3 separate regions of the Homo sapiens genome follow, and regions 1 and 3 are each linked to region 2. Evidence: promoter capture Hi-C in human tissues and cell types (Jung and others, 2019). All regions are on one chromosome and are shown on one strand. Each heading gives the region's core, a stretch centred on a gene start or on the middle of the fragment in contact. The rest is flanking DNA. Distances are from core to core; before and after follow the strand shown. Region 1 holds the start of MLX (MAX dimerization protein MLX). Region 2 holds the start of CCR10 (C-C motif chemokine receptor 10). Region 3 overlaps RETREG3 (reticulophagy regulator family member 3).

The links. Contacts are between HindIII fragments. The study calls those that stand out against the background at their distance.
Region 1: the fragment with the promoter of MLX here is called in contact with the fragment with the promoter of CCR10 in region 2 in 1 of the 25 tissues and cell types used here (dorsolateral prefrontal cortex).
Region 3: a contact is called between a fragment that was not itself captured here and the fragment with the promoter of CCR10 in region 2, in 2 of the 25 tissues and cell types used here (dorsolateral prefrontal cortex and lymphoblastoid cells).

The regions. Positions count from the first base shown.
Region 1 is chr17:42,565,850-42,568,941 of GRCh38, reverse strand. It overlaps MLX (MAX dimerization protein MLX), which reads right to left and starts at 1,842. Exons shown (of 8, transcript NM_198204.2): 1 at 1,776-1,842; 2 at 1,287-1,323; 3 at 383-472; 4 at 1-105. The coding sequence starts at 1,817. It overlaps COASY (Coenzyme A synthase), which reads right to left. Exons shown (of 9, transcript NM_025233.7): 9 at 2,665-3,036. The coding sequence ends at 2,974. RefSeq lists enhancers at 1,091-1,180, 1,056-1,563, 2,321-2,370, 2,577-3,083, 3,084-3,092 and a silencer at 1,581-1,980. The HindIII fragment of the contact is 10,895 bases long and covers 1-3,092 here.
Region 2 is chr17:42,680,293-42,683,147 of GRCh38, reverse strand. CCR10 (C-C motif chemokine receptor 10) reads left to right here and starts at 1,305. Exons shown (of 2, transcript NM_016602.3): 1 at 1,305-1,348; 2 at 2,531-2,855. The coding sequence starts at 1,325. It overlaps CNTNAP1 (contactin associated protein 1), which reads right to left and starts at 617. Exons shown (of 24, transcript NM_003632.3): 1 at 252-617. The coding sequence starts at 318. RefSeq lists enhancers at 163-212, 473-522, 466-1,084, 2,303-2,855 and a silencer at 1,623-1,917. The HindIII fragment of the contact is 6,302 bases long and covers 1-2,855 here.
Region 3 is chr17:42,585,544-42,588,732 of GRCh38, reverse strand. RETREG3 (reticulophagy regulator family member 3) reads left to right here. Exons shown (of 9, transcript NM_178126.4): 3 at 869-899; 4 at 1,842-1,968; 5 at 2,596-2,680. Among named protein-coding and RNA genes, the nearest start is that of PSMC3IP, 9.4 kb to the right of the region's middle. The HindIII fragment of the contact is 8,959 bases long and covers 1-3,189 here.

The DNA.
Region 1 (3,092 bases), core at 593-3,092, 110 kb after region 2:
TGATGGCGTCCCTCCTCTTCTGCTCAGCCTGAGTGTGTGCGCGCCGCCGCCGGTCTTTGTAGGACTCCTTGTAGGCCTCCTGGTGGTAATCACTGTCCTCATCATCTACGCTCAGAGATGGGGGCAGGGAAAGGTCATCTTGGGGCCCAGTGGGGTCCAGCTAGCCCACCTTTCCCCAGCTGGGAAGAACCTGGTGTCCAGAGAAGGCAGATGGACAGAACCACCTAATGTTCCAGATGAGGTGAAAGATGGTGAGACCTTGTGTCTGATACTTTGGCTCCAGCACCCCTGTGTGGATGGCTGGGGCTTCCCTGTCTAGGAAAGGTACTACAATTATGACATATCTGAGCCCCCCGAGGTCGGGGGGGATGTTACTGCCTACCTGTGTTGGGGACAGAAGAGGCACTGGTGGAACCGATGCTATTAGCTCTGGACACTACACTCCCCTTGCGGGTGCTTTCTACAAAAAGCCCTGGAAAAGAGAGGCCCCAATCACTAAGGGGTGGGGTGGGGAACATTGCCAGACCCTCAGACACCTGTAGGACACAATGGCTTTCTTTTATTTATTTATTTTTTTTTTAGACAGAGTCTCGCTCAGTCGCCCAGGCTAGAGTGCAGTGGCGCGATCTCGGCTCACTGCAAGCTCCGCCTCCCAGGTTCACGCCATTCTCCTGCCTCAGCCTCCCGAGTAGCTGGGACTACAGGCGCCCGCCACCACGCCCGGCTAATTTTTTTGTATTTTTTAGTGGAGACGGGGTTTCACCGTGTTAGCCAGGATGGTCTCGGTCTCCTGACCTCGTGATCCGCCTGCCTCGGCCTCCCAAAGTGCTGGGATTACAGGGGTGAGCCACCGCGCCCGGCCACACAATGGCTTTCTTAAATGCTGACCTCTTCCCTTCAACCCAAAGCCAACCATACTGGGCCCCCCACTTCCTGCCAGACCACGCTGCAGTGCTCTGCTCCCTAGTGTCTACACTGCTCCATAGGCCTGCATGATACCCCCCTGGCTCACAAACGGGCATGTGGACGTGATGAGGGTGTGAGTGATCAGCTGCTCCACTGAGTGGTGAGTGATCAGTTCCACCACTTCCCTGTTCCAGAGCAGAGGGAACTAGGTGTCACCCTCAGTTGTTTTCTGCCCTTGTCCTTCAGCTCCTGCTGTCTCAAGCCAGGAACTCTGCTCAGGGAGAGTGGACTGTGCTCAGGCGTGGTTGGCAACGCCACAAGAATCTAGAGAGCCTGGGCGGGAGTGTCCCTCTAGAGCTTAAGATGGGGCAGCTACTCACCGGGGTCCAGGCTGTTGTCGCTGTAGGCATACTCCACCTGCGGCACAGAGCACGGGAAGGGCCCGTCAGACCTCCGCCCCTAGGGGGAGGCGCCCCTTCCACTGCAGGCACGCACAGCGCGCCCCCCATTCCGGGAAGGCGCCTCTGTCACCCTGCGCGCTTGCACACACACAGCCCGGGGTGCGCGGGCAGCTTAATGAGTCCCCCGAGACTGGCACAGGCTAGGGCGTGCGAGTGCCTCCCCTGTGTATGATCCCTTCCGCCCCTACTCCACCCCAGTGCCCCGTTCCCCCGACTCGCGCGCACACGCCTCGTTTGTCTCCCCACCTTGGCACACGCGGGGTGAGAGCTGTCTTCTCTGCAGCCCCGGGGCACGGAGAGCGTGGGGGACTTTGGGGACAGGAGGGAAGCCCCTCGTCTTCCGGCCCCCCTACGTGCACGAGCCCGACCCGCCCTCCCCTCGCCGGCGTGCGCGCCCACGGGGCTTGCCTTGACCCAAGGGTCCTCGGGAGAGGCGCCCGGCTCCGTCATCTTGTACCCACCGGACCGGAAACGGGCCAGCGGGCGGGCCCCCTGCGGCGAGGAAGCGGGTGGCGTGCCCACGTGACCCGCGCCCGCCAATCCGCGACCGAGAGGTGGGGCAGGGCGAAGCATCGCGCATGCGCAGCCCAAAGACTTTACTCCACGGTTCCAGCCGTCAAGGCCCGGCGCTTGGCCTGGCGCCAGCCTCCTTCGAGACTGCTCCCCGCCGTGCCTGCCCTCCCCGGGTTAGGCAGTGGAATGGCGGCGACATGAAGCGCGTTTTGTAAGATGGAGTCCCCTCAATTGGCTTGTCAGCACACCGCCGCAGATAGTGTGTGCACGCGCACTGTCCGGCCGGCCGGCTCCCCACGTTACCCTGAGGGCGGCCTCCCCGCGCTCACCGGACCTGCACTGCTGGCCGGTGTGTCAGGAACCGGGCAGAGAAGCCCCCAGCCACATCGTCCGACCCCACCAGGCTGCAAGCTCTGTGAGGGCAGAGGCCCCGCCTGGCGCGCGGAAGGCTGATCTTCCAACACCCAGCCCAGTGTCTGGCAGGATGCATGTGGAATGAACCCTTGCAAAGAACCTGCTAGCTAGGTTATGCGGCCTCTCATATTAAAAACAAAACAAAAACAATAAAACACGGCAGTACCTAGAAAGTCTACACCTTACTCAGAAGAACACAGCTGGTCAGTGGGAGGGCCAAAGCTCGCCTCTGGCTAGCCTCAAAGGCCATTCTCTTAACCACTGCATTGCCCAGGCTTCCAGCTCAGGCCTGGGCCCTGCACTTGTGGCTTAAGGATCCCAAAGATACTTAGGGGCATTGGAACAGGAAGCAGACACCATACAAGCAACATCTCAGAACATTCACCTTTAATTCTGTTACAGGTTCCAGTATTTGCGCTGGCCCTAGTCAGCTGTGGGTAAGAGTCACCCATGGGCAAGAGTGGGGAGGGGACTGCTCCCCCATGAACCACATCCTCAGTGTTGGCCAAATACCAGCGTGTTGGGTAGGCTTCCTGTGTCCACCAGGCCTGGCCATGTCCTGCACAGTATAGCTTGGACCTCTGGGCCTGAACCAGGGTGAGCATCAAGGCCCCCATTTCTCCTCACCACGGGGTCGCTTGTCAGCTCCAGGAGCCAGTCTGGCCCCACTGAGAACTTTTCAGTCGAGGGCCTGATGAGTCTTGGGAATGCGCTTCTGCAAGAGGGCCCAGGCTTTCTCCACCTTCAGACAGGCCAGGATGTTGGGAGGAAGAGAGGGCAGGGTCAGGCAGTACCCAC
Region 2 (2,855 bases), core at 56-2,555:
GGATCCCAACCCCAAATCCCTGCCCGCTGACTTCATCCTCTTCCCAGAGCCCAGCCCCAGCCCCGGGCGCGCGCGGCAGCCTCAGAGCTGCAATGCGGAGCGCGGGGGAGAGGCAGGAAAAGATGAGAGCCAGCGGGCGCGCGCCGGCCGGGAAGGACCCGCGACCACCCAGCCGCAATGCGGTTCGGGGCCGCCCTGCAGGCTCTGGACTCCTGGGCCCAACCCCACCTGCCTCCAAGCCCAACACTCACAGTAGCCCCAGCCCTCGGCTCCTGAGACCGCGGCGAGCAGGATGCAGAAGAGCCGGAGATGCATCATGCAGGGCTGACGGTCCCGGCAGCCGCCTCCCTGTGAACGGCTCCGGCTAGGGCTCGAGTTCTGGCTTGGGCTCCAAGCTCTCCTCCTGGGGTTTGCAGCAGACCGCTCTCTCCTCCTTACCCACCCTTCCCTCCCTCTCTCCTTTCGCCCCCAAGCGCTCTGTCTCTCCTCTCTCTTTTCTCTCTCTCTCTCTCTGGTTCCTGGTCCTCCGCTCTTCTCTCTCTATCCTCTCCTTTCCACCCTCTTTCCTCTCACCTCCCCCCTTCCCCAGCCTCTGTCTCCTGGCACGCGCCGGTTTCCCGGACCCCGCGCAAGCGCGTGCCTCAGCCCTGCTGCGAAAGGGCGGGGGTAGAGAGCCTCTCGCCACCGGGAAAACCCCAAGTAACCCGAGGCTGCCCGGGACTAGGGCCACAGGAGTGAGGACAGGGAACCTAGGGCCAGAAGCATCCTGAAAATTTCAAGAAAAGGGAGGTGGTTTGGGGGAGGGGTGCCTGGAAATGGAATGAAGGGTAAGTAAAAGAATCTTAACATTTTCGGAAGGCAAATTATGCTCTAGGAGTGGTGCTGGGCACTGTGAATTTAGCATTTTTGCCCTACTCCACTTTGCAGATGAAAAACCTCAGGCTCAGAGAGGTCAAGAAACTTAGTCAATATCACACAGCAAATGATTATATTCCGAAGCCCGTTCTTTCTTCACTGACAAAGACAGTAAATTATTTTTTCTTTCTTTCGTTCATTCTTTTTTCTTTCTTTCCTTCCTTTTTTTCTTTCTTTCTTTCTTTCTTTCCTCTTTCCTTCCTTTCTTCTTCTTTTTTTTTTTTTCGTAAAATCCAGATCCTGCACAAGAGAGTGAAGTCTTTTGGAGGAGGTGGAATGGGAAAGTGACCCCGTAGACCCTAATCCCCACCTCCCTCTCGGCCCCTCTCCCCGCCTCTTCCTTCCTGTCCCGCTAGTAGTTTAACTTCTACCCCCTGTGGCTATACCTCAGAAACCTGTGTAGCCAGAGATGGGGACGGAGGCCACAGAGCAGGTGGGAGTGGGGGCAGGGAGGGGGAGAAGGGTTACAGAGAGGGAGGAGACAGGGAAGGAATGGGATTCCCCACCTGGCAATGGGCCTCTGCCATCCTATGGCTTATTCAGGATTCTTGGCGCTGTCTCAGACTAGGGGTCCTCCAGATAAATGGGCTGGTGGTGTGAGGCTGGGGTTGTGGGACAGGGACTAGGGCTGAGGGGAAAGGCGGGTTGAACCTAGAGGTCCAGGGTCCCACCTGGGCCCTGAAAACCTGAGTCCCAACCCTGGAGACCCCCTTGGCATGAGTGGTTCAGTGTGCTGGTATTGGAGGTACAGGGAAGGTGGGTATGGAAGGGAAAGAAGAGAAACAGAAACCCACTCCAGACGGAGGTTGGAGTCCAGGGCTCAGGTCTGAGGCAAAGCCTGCATATGGGCATCCTTCCAGGAGAGGGCGCTGCAAAGGGAACTGAAGCTGTAGGATTTATTAATAATACAAACTTTGGGCTGGGCGTGGTAGCTCAGGCCTGTAATCCCAGTACTTTGGGAGGCCAAGGTGGGCGGATCACCTGAGGTCAGGAGTTCGAGACCATCCTGGCCAACATGGTGAAACCCCATCTCTACTAAAAATACAAAAATTAGCTGGGCGTGGTGGTGGGCGCCTGTAGTCCCAGCTACTTGGGAGGCTGAGGCAGGAGAATCTCTTGAACCCGGAGGCGGAGGTTGCAGTGAGCCGAGATCGTGCCACTGCACTCCAGCCTGGGCGACAGAGCAAGACTCTGTCTCCAATAATAATAATAATAAATAATAATAATAATACAAACTTTGTATTATGGCCTTTGGAGAACACAGGTTCTCCCCATCCATTATTTTCCATATTGCCATCTTCACAGCAAACCTTGAGAGGTGGGCTGGTCAGGATTTATAATCTCAACATTACAGGTTAGGTAACTGAGGTCTAGAAAGAGCAAGTGGCTTGCTCAAGGTCACCCAGGAAGCTGGAAGCAGAGGTAGGAGGGGTGCAAGGGAAGCCAAGGCCTGCTGAAGGTGTGCTAGGAAGAGTCTGGAGAAGAGCTTATGTCTCCCCGTGTACTGTTACATCTGGCCACACAGGAGCTCTCAGCTTGGAAGGCAAGTGTGGGCGGGGGAGTTGTGTGGTCAGATGTGTCTCATAAGATCCCGCCTCTCATTTGACCCTCCCAGGTTTCCTGGGGCCATTACTCTGGGGATGAAGAGGACGCATACTCGGCTGAGCCACTGCCGGAGCTTTGCTACAAGGCCGATGTCCAGGCCTTCAGCCGGGCCTTCCAACCCAGTGTCTCCCTGACCGTGGCTGCGCTGGGTCTGGCCGGCAATGGCCTGGTCCTGGCCACCCACCTGGCAGCCCGACGCGCAGCGCGCTCGCCCACCTCTGCCCACCTGCTCCAGCTGGCCCTGGCCGACCTCTTGCTGGCCCTGACTCTGCCCTTCGCGGCAGCAGGGGCTCTTCAGGGCTGGAGTCTGGGAAGTGCCACCTGCCGCACCATCT
Region 3 (3,189 bases), core at 409-2,908, 95 kb after region 2:
TGAGCCAAGATCGTGCCACTGCATTCCAGCCTGGGTGACAGAGTGAGATTCTGTCTCAAAAAAATAAAGAGAACAGGCAGATTTCGGCTGGGTACGGTAGCTCACGCCTGTGATGCCAGCACTTTGGGAGGTGGAGGAGTTCGAGAGCAGCCTGGCCAACATGGTGAAACCCCATCTCTACTAAAAACACAAAAATTAGCCAGGTATGGTGGCGTGTGCCTGTAATCCCAGTTACTCGGGAGGCTGAGTGAGCTGAGATCACGCCACTGCACTCCAGCCTGGGCTACAGAGCAAGACCCTGTCTCCAAAAAAAAAAAAAATTAGCCGGGCATTGTGGTGGGTGCCTGTAGTCCCAGCTACTCAGGAGGCTGAGGCAGAAGAATGGGAGGCGGAGCTTGCAGTGAGCCAAGATCGTGCCACTGCACTCCAGGCTGGGCAACAGAGCGAGAAGACTCTGTCTCAAAAAAAATAAACACAACAGGTGGATTTCTAGGGTTGGAGTTGTTACAACGTACCTTGTGTAGCCTGGCACAGATTGATGTGTATGGGTATCCCAGACACACTCAAGGGGTGAGATGGACCATTTTTCTTGTACACCTTGGCTTTCAGCTGAGGTCATTAGAAGGGGGCTCAAATAGTCCATTTGGACCTCCCTTCCTTCCCCTCGAAAAATGAGTAGGCATAAGTGATTATTCCCTTGTCTGCAGCTCCCTAACTGGCAGTATAACACAGTGTCTCCTTTTTTATCGGCTATTACTGTTTTCTTTTCCCCAACCTATTAAAACTTGAGCTGTCAGACCAACAGCCTAACATTTTCATGTTTAGTTTTCCCTACCAACTAATGCTGGTGTTTGTTTTAATATTGTAGTGCCAAGACCCGACGCATTAGACAATGAGAGGTATGGAACACTAATTAAATCCCTTTTTGTTGCTCTGATTCATTCTCTTGTAATATTCTGGTTACATGTTGTTAACCCCATGTTCTGGACACACAGTGTAAACTGAGAACCTAGGCTGTTCCAAATGATCATTTTAACACATCCTAAAGTTCAGGCAGCAATATGTTGAGATGGCCTGTGTCCTCTGATCTTTACAAGAGAAGTTTCTGAAAAAGAAGCATTACAGTGCCCCATAACCTGACATGCCAGGGAATCAGCTGCATTATTCAGTCCCAGTGAGAAAACTTAAAGGCAGCTAACTTCATTTGTCTCCTGGCTTTTATACCAGGTCATTTAGTGTTTTCTGTGACCTCTGGCTATTTAAAGTTCCCGGTCAGAAAACACATTGGTTCCTGGCATCAGCAAGTCAAAGCCAAAGATTCCTCTTGTGTCTTACAGCTCCTGCTTTCATTTCTCAGTTCATCCACTCCATTTGTTTGATCCAAAGAATTTTCTCTGCTGTGGTTTATTTTGGTTTTGCTTTATTTATTTTCTTTCTAAGGGGCACATCCACCATTTCCTCCCCCTTAGCAGCAGTGGTGTCAGTCAGACTATGCTCACTTTTATCCCTGGATTGCAATCACAGGGAATTGGAATGGTCTGAGTGCAAGGAAGAAAACGTTTCTAAGCACAAAGGGCCTTGGAGCTGGGGACAGGTTTACACACGTGGATTGGGCTGCTTGCTCATAGGGTGGAGTTGTCAGAACAAGTTTGTCCTCCTTGTACCTAAATTCAGATTTCAACCTGGTGAGCCAAGAAGAAAGTCATGCTTCACCTCCAAAGCACCTGGGCCTAGTCACTCCCCAAACCCCATTTAAAACCGGAAGCACTGGCTGCCTGCACAGCAAGATGGGGGGACCCTCAACACCCTCCTTTCACAGCTCCCCCTTCTCTCTCCCATAGCTGGGGCTTTGTGCACCCTCGGTTGCTCAGCGTGCCCGAGCTCTGCCACCATGTAGCTGAAGTCTGGGTTAGTGGGACCATTTTCATAAGGAATGTTTTGCTTTTCAAAAAGCAAAACCCAGGCAAGGTAAGACTCTTCCCTTTTTCACTTTCATCTCTGGCCTCTCAGTTCAGTTCATGCTAAACTGAAACAGCTCCTTTACTATGTGTCTTCATTCAAGAAAGTAAAGACTATGATGTTCATAGAGACAAAAGGAAGCTATAGGAAAGGCCTTCTGACCAGCCATTAGGACTAACACAGGAGCTTGGTGACTGCTCATTTGGTGTGGTTGCCACTTAGATGAGGCCGTTTTCTTGCTTCAAGATAGGAAAGAAAGCTTTCTTGTGTACATTCTGTGTCATATTAAATATGTGATAGGTTGTTGTGTTTTTTTGGGTTTTGTGTGTGTTTCTGTTGACTTAAAAAACCACCACCAACATTGCTTTCAGAGAGAATTTTTGGCTAAGTCCTATTCAAACCAATTTCTTGGCAGGAAAGGTGCAGCCCTATGGGGTTAGCCATGTAAAAGGAGTTTGAATAGAAGGGGACATGCTCCTTTTCTTCCCAAACAGAATCACCTTTGGATGCAACAGTGGCTGCACGTCCATGCTTGACTTACAGAGTCTTTCTGTCATATCTCTACCCTAACCCTTCACACCCACCCCAGTCCCCTGCCATGTGACAGAAACTTAATACTCTTTCTTGATTCCCCAGTTCTGCTTGCTGAGCTGTGGGATACTGACCTTTTTGGCTGTCTTGGGCCGCTACGTCCCTGGGCTTCTGCTGTCCTACTTGATGCGTAAGTATGACATATACCTCCCCTACAAAGTATACCCTGCTCATAGCTTTCCAACTATGGCTAACTCTAGGTGTGGGGAGAGGACTGTTATATTTCAATTCTCTAGGATATGACCTTTGCATATTTTCATGACCTGTTTAGTGTCATGAAAATATCCTTCTTTAGCAGGCTCTCCACATACAAAGTTCATTTCTTACCAAGTCAGAAATTGATGAGGGTCCACTAACATATATTGTTGGTATTACCAACTATAAAGGACTGCCTGTCCCTGTTTAAGGAGAGAATTTTTAGAGCCAGGGTATTGTCAGCAGAACATAACTCTTAGGGGTTTCTCTGCTAGGTTCTATTTATGCCAGAGTACTTTTTTCCCACTTGGAGCATAGTTTTGTAAATTTAGTTACTTCCTGTTGGCATGTACTCAGCTTGCTTGGGGCTGGAAGAACTAAGTACTTATGCCTGTGGCTTTTGTATATCAAAACCTCGCATGATTTGTTGTGTAATTTCCATTT